Regions from separate parts of the Homo sapiens genome. Here regions 1, 3 and 4 are each linked to region 2. The links are contacts of gene promoters, found by promoter capture Hi-C in blood cells and fetal thymus (Javierre and others, 2016). All regions are on one chromosome and are shown on one strand. Each heading gives the region's core, a stretch centred on a gene start or on the middle of the fragment in contact. The rest is flanking DNA. Distances are from core to core; before and after follow the strand shown.

The links. Contacts are between HindIII fragments. The CHiCAGO score rates a contact against its expected background, and 5 or more counts as called.
Region 1: a contact is called between a fragment that was not itself captured here and the fragment with the promoter of CMSS1 in region 2, in 1 of 17 cell types (activated CD4 T cells). The highest score is 5.1, in activated CD4 T cells.
Region 3: a fragment that was not itself captured here is called in contact with the fragment with the promoter of CMSS1 in region 2 in 1 of 17 cell types (monocytes); the score reaches 5.1 in monocytes.
Region 4: a fragment that was not itself captured here is called in contact with the fragment with the promoter of CMSS1 in region 2 in 1 of 17 cell types (naive B cells); the score reaches 5.5 in naive B cells.

Annotation. Positions count from the first base shown.
Region 1 is chr3:100,211,201-100,213,911 of GRCh38, reverse strand. No RefSeq gene overlaps it. Among named protein-coding and RNA genes, the nearest start is that of TBC1D23, 48 kb to the left of the region's middle. The HindIII fragment of the contact is 1,598 bases long and covers 543-2,140 here.
Region 2 is chr3:99,816,264-99,819,120 of GRCh38, reverse strand. It overlaps CMSS1 (cms1 ribosomal small subunit homolog), which reads right to left and starts at 1,259. Exons shown (of 10, transcript NM_032359.4): 1 at 1,078-1,259. The coding sequence starts at 1,141. It overlaps HP09053 (a long non-coding RNA gene), which reads left to right. Exons shown (of 3, transcript NR_110821.1): 2 at 147-201; 3 at 649-2,489. LOC105374010 (a long non-coding RNA gene) reads right to left here and starts at 1,259. Exons shown (of 5, transcript NR_189163.1): 1 at 1,078-1,259. RefSeq lists enhancers at 993-1,302, 534-1,408 and a silencer at 824-1,578. The HindIII fragment of the contact is 550 bases long and covers 848-1,397 here.
Region 3 is chr3:100,083,587-100,086,327 of GRCh38, reverse strand. The region is part of intron 1 of CMSS1 (cms1 ribosomal small subunit homolog); the gene reads right to left. The region is part of intron 1 of FILIP1L (filamin A interacting protein 1 like); the gene reads left to right. Among named protein-coding and RNA genes, the nearest start is that of FILIP1L, 30 kb to the left of the region's middle. The HindIII fragment of the contact is 1,269 bases long and covers 707-1,975 here.
Region 4 is chr3:100,298,369-100,301,068 of GRCh38, reverse strand. TBC1D23 (TBC1 domain family member 23) reads right to left here. Exons shown (of 19, transcript NM_001199198.3): 10 at 1,738-1,830. Among named protein-coding and RNA genes, the nearest start is that of NIT2, 35 kb to the left of the region's middle. The HindIII fragment of the contact is 9,654 bases long and covers 1-2,700 here.

The sequences.
Region 1 (2,711 bases), core at 92-2,591, 390 kb before region 2:
ATTTCTTGCTTTTTTCAGCTTCTGGAGGCCACTTACATTCTTTGGATCATGGCCACTTCCTCGCATCACTCCAACCTCCTGCTTCTGTTGTTGCATCTCCTACTACTCCTTTTATCACTGCCTGCCTCTTATAAGGCCCTTATGACTGCAGTGGGCCCACCCAAATCACCCAGGATCATCTCCTTCTATCAGTGTCCTTAATCATATCTGTAGAGTCTCTCTGGACATTTAATACATTTACACATTCCGGGAATTAGGACGTGGACATCATTGGTGGTGGGCAGGGGGTATTATTCTACCTACCACACCTGGTCAGAGGTAATTGGTTACAAATGGAAGGTGAGATAGGGGAAGGATTCTAAGATTTCAGAGTTGGTACTTAAAATTATTTTATTTTTTAGAAAAGTACTCGATTATGTGACAAACATAGAAAGTTGCAACAAAGAAATGCTTTCTTGGCTACTAAAGAGATGAACATGTGTTGGCACTATATTTTTATTTAACAATGACAATTCTGCTCCTAGAATAATCAGAGTAAAGCTTCCCCCACCTCTAAAAAATTAACATAAAAATGTCTTAAAAAATATAATATTGTGGCCAGCTAGGTATACAAATCTGTGGGGCTTCATGTCCTGACAGATTCACTAAGCATTCCATCCAGTCTCCTGTGAGGGACCTTTGGCAGGAATTAAAGCCTTTCAAGAGAGACCCTGAGAACCTTCCTCAAAACGTTAATTCAAGTATCATAAATCTACAACATCATTTGTATTCTAGAACATGTCATCCCAATATAAGTTCTAGCATTGTTGTGCCTTCAACATGCTGAGTACAGTGTTTGAGAATCAGTCACTTTCAATGCTTCCCTCTTGGCCAAATGGATAACTTTAGGGAAGTTTCTAGCCTTTCTTTTTGGTGCATGGCTGTATTTTGAGTGCTCAGGATATTGCCATAACCTTTGCTTGGTCTGTTCTTAGCAGAAAAAACTCTAACTCTAACTCTATAGAAAAGGGAGAACATTAAAAAAAAATCAGTTTTCAAAAATCATCCTGATGCTGAATTTAGTTCAACAATTGTTGGGGTGGTTATAATAATTTCAGGCCAGGTGCGGTGGCTCACACCTGTAATTCCAGCACTTTGGAAGGCGGGTGGATCACTTGAGGTGAGTTTGAGACCAGCCTGGCCAACATGGTGAAACCCCAACTCTACTAAAATTATAAAGGCCGGGCGCAGTGCTTCAAGCCTGTAATCCCAGCACTTTGGGAATGTGAGGCGGGTGGATCACCTGAGGTCAGGTGTTCGAGACCAGCCTGGCCAACATGGTGAAACCCCGTCTTTACTAAAAGACAAAAATTAGCGGGGCATGGTTGCATGCGCCTGTAATCCCAGTTACTCGGGAGGCTGAGGCAGGAGAACTGCTTGAACCTGGGAGGCAGAGGTTACAGTGAGCTGAGATTGCGCCACTGCACTCCAGCCTGGGTGACAGAGTAAGACTCCATCTCAAACAAACAAACAAATAAATAAATAAATAAAATAGCAAAAATTAGCAGGGTATGGGGGCACACGCCTATAATCCCAGCTAATTGAGAGGTTGAGGCAGGAGGATCGCTTGAGCCAGGAGGATTGCTTGAGCCCAGGAGGCAGAAGTTGCAGTGAGCCAAGATTGTGCCACTGCACTCCAGCCTGGGTGACAGGGTTAGACTCCATCTCAAAAAAAAAAATAAAAGCAAATTTCAAATAGCCAGTGAAGACTCATGGTTTGAGCCTGATCCGATGGTTAGGACTCACCTAATCGTGGGTACCCCAGATTGCTTGCTCTTTTCTGGTGATGGCACTCTCTTACAGAGTTCACCTGCCTTCAGGCTCAAGGACTTCAAATAAATACTGGAAAACTGGTCTAGAGCTCAAGAGTGACTTATTCTCCCCACACCAAGGACATTTTACTACGTATAATTATGCCTCCCCTCTTCTTCCTTCTTCTTTTTAACTCTAAAATTCTCTTCATTGTCTATTTGAAATTGATTTTAGTTCAGTCAACCTAGTTCCCCTTGTTGAAACATCCCAGTCATCTCCAGCCCTTCAGAGATCTTTGGTTCTGTTACTTCACTGTCCAGTTTTGTTTCCTCCTTTTCTTTTTAAAGCTTGACTTTATTGATGGAAGAAGGACATTTTCTTGTTTTTCAGCATGATGTGAATTGCCATCATGGCAAAGGAGGCCAACCATGTCATAGCTCCTGTCACTGTGTAGGCAAGACCTAAGAAAAGGCTATTACCCCCACACCATGTCAGGGTGGAGAGAACAACTGATTTTTCTCCGTGGAACCTGGTTACTGGGAAGTCTAAGAAGACCTGTTAAGAATCTGACTCAACACTTCACATTTCTAGTATTGCATATACTGAATATATTAGGTTGACACATATAAAATTGCTCTTTTTTATAGGTAAAAAAATGGTTAAATATCTAATCTCATATGCTGCAACTTAATCTTTACCAAGCACTACTCTGTATCTTGCTGGAATGAAAATAAAAACAAGCCTTCCCTCTACATAGTTGTAAGCTACGAAAGAGATTCTGACACAGATCTGAATGACTTATAGACAACTGATAATGAACAAATATATTTAATTTCCTTTGGCAAACCCAAGGAAATTACAATCATACAAACCTAAATTTTTATATATGAATTAGAAGACCCAGGGCAGGCTATAGTCCT
Region 2 (2,857 bases), core at 10-2,509:
AAATGAAGTTGGTTATTTTTAATGGATATTTCACAACTAGTATTTCAAGATTGTTTGCAGCAAATAGGTATCAAGTGTCTAACATGTGCAGGGCCCTGTGGATGACAGAAGTATGAATCTGACTTTGGCCCTGTCTTCTCTTGTAGAGAAAAGAGGCAGACCTTGAGGAGTGATAAAAACCAACCAACCAATAATTGCATGGTAGGTGTGATGGAACTTAAAAAGTTCAAGGCTAGCCTGACATGGGGGGTCACTTAACGCTACTCTACTTGGGGATGAAATGCCCACTGCATCAGGAGTTGGTAAACACAGCAGAGCATAGTAGAAACTATTCAAATTGTGTTAACTGAATTCTAGTATTGTTTCTGAAAGGAGCTAGCTTTGTGAACTTGTCAAGTTACTTGACATCTTTAGGTTATGTTTCTCATCTGTAAAATAAGTGAGTTCAAAGGATGATCTCTATTTAAGCCTCCTTCCAGTTCTACTATTCCAAATTCCATGATAATGATGATGACCACAAGAAATACAGTAACTTATATTTACCACACATTATATGTCAAGCACTATGCTAAAGTGCATTACTGTACTAACTTCACTTAATCTTCACAACTTTACGAAATGGACATTATTGTTATCATTATTTTACAGATGAGGAAAAGGAGGCTAAACAGTATCAGAATACTGGAGTCGTGATTTGAATGGAGGGAGTCTGAAGCAGCAACCCCTGCTTCTGACCTCAGTCTGAATTGAAAGCAGTTCATGGGTCACCCTTAACCATCATACAAAGTTGCCTCTCTTCACAAAAACTGTCTTATCCATTCTCAAGAAATAAGGAAAAGAGAAAGCTTGTGGAAAGGATCCTTCCTGGCTGGCAGACAGATCTGAGTTAATGTCACAGCTGTCTGTTTCACGTGTTAAAGAATCTCTTGCACCATTTTCCCCGAGATGCTTGCGCGCTCCCAAGGCGGTGCACACCCCTGCTGGGCAAACACCGCGATCGCCAGAAGCGACCAGGGCTGAGGCGCACGGAAGGGCTCCGGGAGAGGCCCCGTAGGAGCGCGGGCACAGAGTGGGTACCTGGGCTGCTGCCTGCTCCAGTCGGCTGGTTCTCCCACCACTCGTCTCCGAGATCGTCTGCCATTTCAGCTCAGGTCTCGACGTGGGCAGAACATCACGGGTAGGCGACCAGCTGCGGAGAATCACGTTGTCTCAAAGCCAGGCGGCCGGCGTAGCTACACGCGGAGCTCCCGCTAGACACTGTCGCCTCCGCCCCGCGGCGATGACGTCACACCTCTGCCCCGCCTCTCCGGCAGCCGCTCCCAGACTCGTCGCAGTTTCCACACAGGCGCCGACAGGCAGAAGCAGTTTGGAAACGCAACATAAATCCCCCCAAAGCTTAAAGACAAAAAGGAACATAAGACGAAAGGGATTGTCATCGTTTTTGATAATGCATTTTAAAAAATTTTGTTTACGTGTTACGTTTCCCGATAAGATTGTGTCGAAAGTGTGAGACACCATGTGAAGACGATTTTTCTCCGCTCAGTTTCAAAGAACTTGCGCAGCGGGAGAAGACCCAAACATGTGCGTGTGTTTTCGCTTGTGCGTCAGTGTTTCAGAGTTTATGTGTTTGTACAGTTTGCTCTTAGAAAACATGCGCAAGGATCCATGACCATGAATGTCGGGCCTTTGTGGTAAATGTAGTTCTGCTATTTATGCAATATGAGTAAAGAAAATGTAATTGGCCTGGAAAGGCTCGCCCACAGAAAGACGCAAGTGGCTCGAAGACCCGCAAGTTGTTTTCCTCATACTCCCTCGGTTGTGTGTCCCACCCCCTATTTGGGAAACGAAGTAATAAGGGAGTCCATTGCTTCGTAACTATAGGTAAGAGACCCGCAGTGCCTCTTGTCTCAGTCCCAACGTGATTTGGCAGGGAGGGACTAGGAAAACCCGCTGGGCGCCAAGTGCTGGGGCTAGCTGTGAAGTAATTGTGGACGGTATTTTTCAGGACATCAAACACAGACGTAAAAATTATACAAAATGTAGTAAAAGCACGCAACGTGCCTGGTACTATGCATGGAATAGTAAGATGAGTCCATTCAGATGTTAGCCTACAGTAGTGGAAATTCAATTTGTAGGAATAAAGGGCTAGACTTCTAATAGGATACATCCTCGGAAATGACAAGACAGGGAAACTTAATCTGATGAGGCTAGGATTAGCCATATGTGGAAAATTACCCCGTGTGCACCCAACTCATAGATGTTTTATAAATGCATTACTGCCTAGACTTTGTCCGCACACTCTAAATGCCCCAAAAGGGAAGATATTATGTATAAATATGGCAAATGTAAAATAATCTATAAAGATCAAAAGTAATATGGCTTTTGTGAAGAAATGTAGATGACGAGATTTTCGTGATTAATAGATTTTTGAAAAAGATAAGAAATGCCAGTGTGGAAGAGGAGTTGCTATGGCTAATAAACATGAAAAGAATTCAGTCTGATTATTAATCTGGGAAATACAAAAAAAACACCACAGCGAGACCGTTTTTCAGGCAATAAATCACAAAATTAAGAAGTATGGGCCGGGCGCGGTGGCTCAAGCCTGTAATCCCAACGCTTTGGGAGGCCGAGGTGGGTGAATCACCTGAGGTCAAGAATTCCAGACCAGCCTGGCCAAAATGGCGAAACCCATCTCTACTAAAAATACAAAAATTAGCCGGGCATGGTGGCAGGCGCCTGTAATTCCAGCTACTTGAGAGTCTGAGGTAGGCGAATTGCTTAAACCCGGGAAGTGGAGGTTGCGGTGAGCCGAGATGGTGCCATTACACTCCAGCCTGGTTGACAAAAGCGAAACTCG
Region 3 (2,741 bases), core at 92-2,591, 270 kb before region 2:
TCCAAACAAGTACAACTAACTTCGTGGCTTTTCTGTCCCTTTCTTCTGTGGTACTGAATGACTTCTAGTTGTTTTCTAATCAGCTCAATAGGTTAACTATTTGAGACTGAATAAAATAAAGCAGCCCATGGCAGGTCAAAGACTCTCTACCACTGCCAGAAAGGAAACGCAACTGTTCTATGCTCTTTATGCAGGTTCGCTGCAGAAAGATACATGTTTATTTCATTAAAAGCTATTTTATTACCTGGAGGAAACCAAACATCAAGTTTAGCTCTCTAACACGAATCATATTTTATTCAAATGCAGATGTACTTTTCAACTACAGCAGCCATTTGATTAACTTGTCCAATGACTAAACTCATGACCCTCTATATTAAAAGTGGTGACCTTTATGCTGAAGAATCTAACCCAGAGCTAAGTTATCCATTAAAATGCAACTTGGGAGTATATTACTCTTCATGAAAATGTAACCACCTCTTTTCCTGCTAGTCGAGGTCTCCAGAGAAACACAGAGTGAATAAAAGACATATGTAACTTCTTTTATTTGGCCACTTAGGAGGGGGTCATCATCCACGTGCATAGCTCTGATTCCCAGATGACAGACAAAAATGACAGAACACTGCAGTGGCTGAAGAGTACTTCAGAAACATTTCAGTTGGAGGAAAGGCACTTCATTCCCTCATGAGAGACGGAAAGCCTGTAAGCTTGAGGATGTTATTTGCCTGCATCTTAGAGCTATGCTGAGATGAAGGATGAAAGAGGAACACAGAGGGGTCTTGGTTGATAAGAGAGGAAGAAATGGGGATATTTTTGCTTCTGAGATAAAAAAGCAAAGGAACTTTGGATTGATGTATGGTTTTGAGAAATTACAAGCACTTGGAGAAAGCATAGTCCCAAATGGGCAACATTTGTATAAAAAGACCCTGCTATTATAGTAAAAGTCAGTCATTTTTCCCTACATGAGGAAGCAGAAAGAAATGAATTCCTTAAGGAGAAGGGAAGATATAAAACATCAGTCCTCTTAGTGTGAAACATTTTAACTAGTTTATAATCACACTATCTACAATAATAAGCTGTTCTAAAATATTAATGTTCTCTTCTGGCAAACTTCAGGTTGGTTGTACGGTATAATCACCTTAGATACTTTTAAAACAATTCCATATCCAGGGATTCTAATTCAACTGATCAGGACTGTTTCTCTTGTGATTCTATTGAGCAGCCTGGGCTGGAAACCACCACTTTAGGGGATACGGCTTAGTTTAGGAGATTCAGCAGAGATCTGTACCATACATACATATTTAAAAGTGCGCCACAATTCAACAAATGACAGAAAAATCTGAAGCTAAAGACATGGACAGAGAATGAGTTTCTGCATTATAAGATAATTTTTGGATTCATTACATTACCTTTACATAGTGGCTACTTCATTTATAATTCCCTAACTTGATGCAAGGCTGGGACTGATTGGGGATAGGTATTTTAGCAACCAAATTCCACCTACGCAAGTGAAAAAGAAGCTACAGCTCTGAGATGATAATATGAACCAAGTGAAAACTATGATTTGATTTATAAATATTCAGTTTTCGGAACACAAATAAGTGGAAAAAGTGAGGTTGATCTGTAATATCCATATCCTCATGTTTATACGTAAGTGACAATTTCTCTAACTTATGGCTTTACGGTCAAATCCCTTGCATAGACATAGTAAAACCACATCAGTTCCTCTTTATAAAGCTCTGTTTAAGAGACACGGCTATCATAAGGTTCTTACTTCCCATAACACTGTATTGTTTTCCCGTTTTTAGTGGCTGTTCCTTTTAAACAAATCTTTGGAGCACTGAAAGGCTTTATTCATTTTCTTTGAGTTTTTCTATATATCTGAAATCTGAAAGTAAGCCCAAAATGTGAATTTGCAAGCAGCCTTGATCAAAATTCATATTTAGGTCCAAATTAACTAGTTTGATGGACCTAAGCTTATAAATATTTGCATATTTTTATGTGGGTAGCATGAAAAACCCCTCTACTCAATGGGCTAGTGAAAAATAGCAGGTAGGAGACTAAAAGGGACTTTTAAAATGAGCCACTCCAAAGGCTGCTATTAAAGTTATTTAAACATGTACATGAAATAACAATACGGAGCTTTTGCTTAACTGGGGCACAAATGCATAATCTAGAAGTCTAGACATGCAGCAAATGACATGGGTCTCATGGCCCGAGGCTTTATTTTAAAAATTGAGCTCCTTTCTGCTGGCATGGGGGTAGCAGAAATTTTAATACAAGCATTATTATTATTTTATGAAAGGAAGAAATAACACAAATTAACTATAACGGAGAAATATTCTTTGTAATTCAGCTGTCAACTTCAGCATACATAAATTTTATTTTGATAATTATGCTCACAACCTTAGTACTTCTGACCAAAATCTACTATAGAACTTCCAATGGCAAGAATCACGCCAGGCACCGTGGCTCATGCCTTAATACTAGCACTTTGGGAGGCCAAGGTGGGAGGACTGCTTGAGCCCAGAAGTTTGAAACCAGCCTGGGCAACATAGGGAGACCCCCTTCTCTAAACAAACAAACAAACAAAGAAATGGTGATGTTAAAAATTTTTTTTATGAAGTTGAAAACACAATTTAGTTAAGACTGATTATTCTAACACTTTAAAAAATATGACACTAAATGTAGGCCTCATATTTCAAACAAGATAAAGAAGCATGCACTAAGCAACTAATATTTGT
Region 4 (2,700 bases), core at 135-2,634, 480 kb before region 2:
AAAATGTATAAAAAGATGTCAAATGCAGCATTATTACAAGAAAACAAAAAATAACCCACATATACATCAATCAGGCAATAAATTATAGTATACCTACATGTACCATGGACCACTATGCATCATTAGAAAGAATGTACTTAAATCAAAAGATCTCTTAGAAACTGTTACGTGAAAAATCAAGTGGCAAAACAAAAAATATGTAAACAGATATTAAAAGTCTGGAAGATTACGTAAGCTGATAATATTCTTTAAAAATTTTTAAAAATTCAAGCCGGGCATGGTGACTCACGCCTGTAATCCCTGCACTTTGGGAGGCCAAGGTGGGCAGATCACTTGAAGCTGGGAGTTTGAGACCAGCCTGGCCAACATGAACCCCCTCCTCTACTAAAAGTAAAAAAAATTAGCCAGGCATGGTGGCGCACACCTGCAGTCCCAGTTACTCGGGAGGCTGAGGCTAGGGAATCGCCAGAACCTGGGAGGCTGAGGTTGCAGTGAGCCAAGATCATAACACTGTACTCCAGCCTGAGTGGCAGAGTAGAAACTCTGTCTCAAAAAAAAAAAAAAAAAAAATTAATTCAAGTATTCATGAATCACTTGAGTAAATTTTTAAAATAGGAAGGAGAGAGGAATCAAGGAAGAGAAAGGCACAGAGTTCACCTACAGAATATGGATGAGCTAAGATGGCCTTTCTCACAATATCTGTTAGTTCTTCCTCAATATTACCTAGGCCCTTTCACACACCCTTTCAGTTCAGCATCAAATTTTTCAGACGAGTTGGGAAGGGGAAAGGTAGACTTAACATTTAGCTAAGAGGTTTCTCATCCCATTCCTGTGTTCCCCATCCCTGAGGCTTTAATGATCCCAGAATGGCTTAAATGATGTTAGCCTCAATTCTACCAACAGCTCTATACATCTCTGACAATTATTTACCATTCTTCAAATTAAATGACCTAGGATAGTAGTTTTAATAACTAAGTACTTATATGCCAGATACTACCCTTATTAAATATTAGTTTATTATATGCATAAATACTCATGATTAAAAATGGCTCATACTATAAAGCCTACAGAATTCTTACTCAATTACAGTAAGAGCTGATATCCAGAGAGTACTTAGTAGGTGCAGTGCACTATGCTAAGTGCTATACTAGGTAGCTCAAACTAAGTTCAGAATTTACTGACATAAAAATGGTAAGCGATAGTAAGCCATAGTGAGCATTGTTTTCAACTACCCTTTATAATGCCAAAAGGGTATCTGGGCTGGGCGTGGTGGCTCACGCCTATAATCCCAACACTTTGGGAGGCTGAGGCAGGGGGATCACCTGAGGTCAGGAGTTCGAGACCAGCCTGGCCAACATGGTGAAAGCCCGTCTCTACTAAAAATACAAAAAATTAGCCGGGCCTGGTGGTGGGTGCCTGTAATCCCACCTACTAGGGAGGGTGAGGCAGGAGAATAGCTTGAACCCAGGAGGCAGAGGTTGCAGTGAGCCGAGATCGCACCATTGCACTCCTGCCTGGGCAACAAAAGCGAAACAAACAAACAAACAAACAACAACAAAAACACAAAAGGGTATTTGGGTGAAAAGGAAACCTGACAGCAACACTTTTCTCATAAGGGCAGAGACTCCCTCCTTAAGCAGAAAGAAAAAAATTCCCCAATCTGGGACCTATATATTTATTTATGAACTGAAGGAAAAAAAGTTACTTTAAGAATAATTAATCAGCATTTATACTAACCAGGTCTGAATCTAAGTGGAAAGCAGTTGATAAATGCCCAGCATTATATTGTTCTGCAGGACGGCAATCCACCACAAAGAACCGGACTCCTTCCTAAAACGGAAACAACATTTGACATACAGGAATTTCCCATGAGGTTCACATTGCACAACATAATATTCACAGTTAACCAAATAAAGGGAACAAGTTCATTAAAAAATGGATCTCACATGGAATTGGGAGGACCTAGTTAGCACAGAAAATAACCCGAAGGTCCTAAATACTTTTATTTCTTTTAAACAGTTAAAACATTTTTCTTTTTTAGATGTTGTTCTTTACTGGAAAGTCTTAAAATACATAGAAGGAGAGTGTCTGTTTGAGCTATAAAACTAATTATAATTAATTATAAAACTAATTATAAAACGCTATATAGTTATAAACACAACTCTAGATATGCTATTCTTTTTTGCAAATAAATCTGCAAATTTATCAACAGCTCAATTCACGTAAGAACTAAACATCTATTTCGTGTGGGGGGATGAAGGGAGAATGTTCTGAAATACCAGTTTCAACTAAAGAAGTTCACATGGATCTCTTTAAACTGGATAACATGTTTTCATTTGTTTTTAAATATTAGTTTGAATAAGAAAAAAGTGAGATGCTTGTATTTTGAAAATCCTCAATAACCAGCGCAGATACAGTAAGAAATCCAACTAAGAAAGATCTACCATAAAAGGCTATTTTCCCACGTCCATTCCTTTCCTGCCCTCAACCTTGGAAATACACTACACCTTCCAAATACACACCATGGTTAACTGCTGCACTACTAGTAATAAAGACCATATATTAAAAACATCATTGGTCAAATTGACTTATTAGATTTTCATGAAGAAAATTTCATTTTCACAATTCTCCTTTGCTATAAGTTGTATGGAACTAAACCATGTAATTCAATTAGCTGTAAACTACCAGAAACTGTTAAAT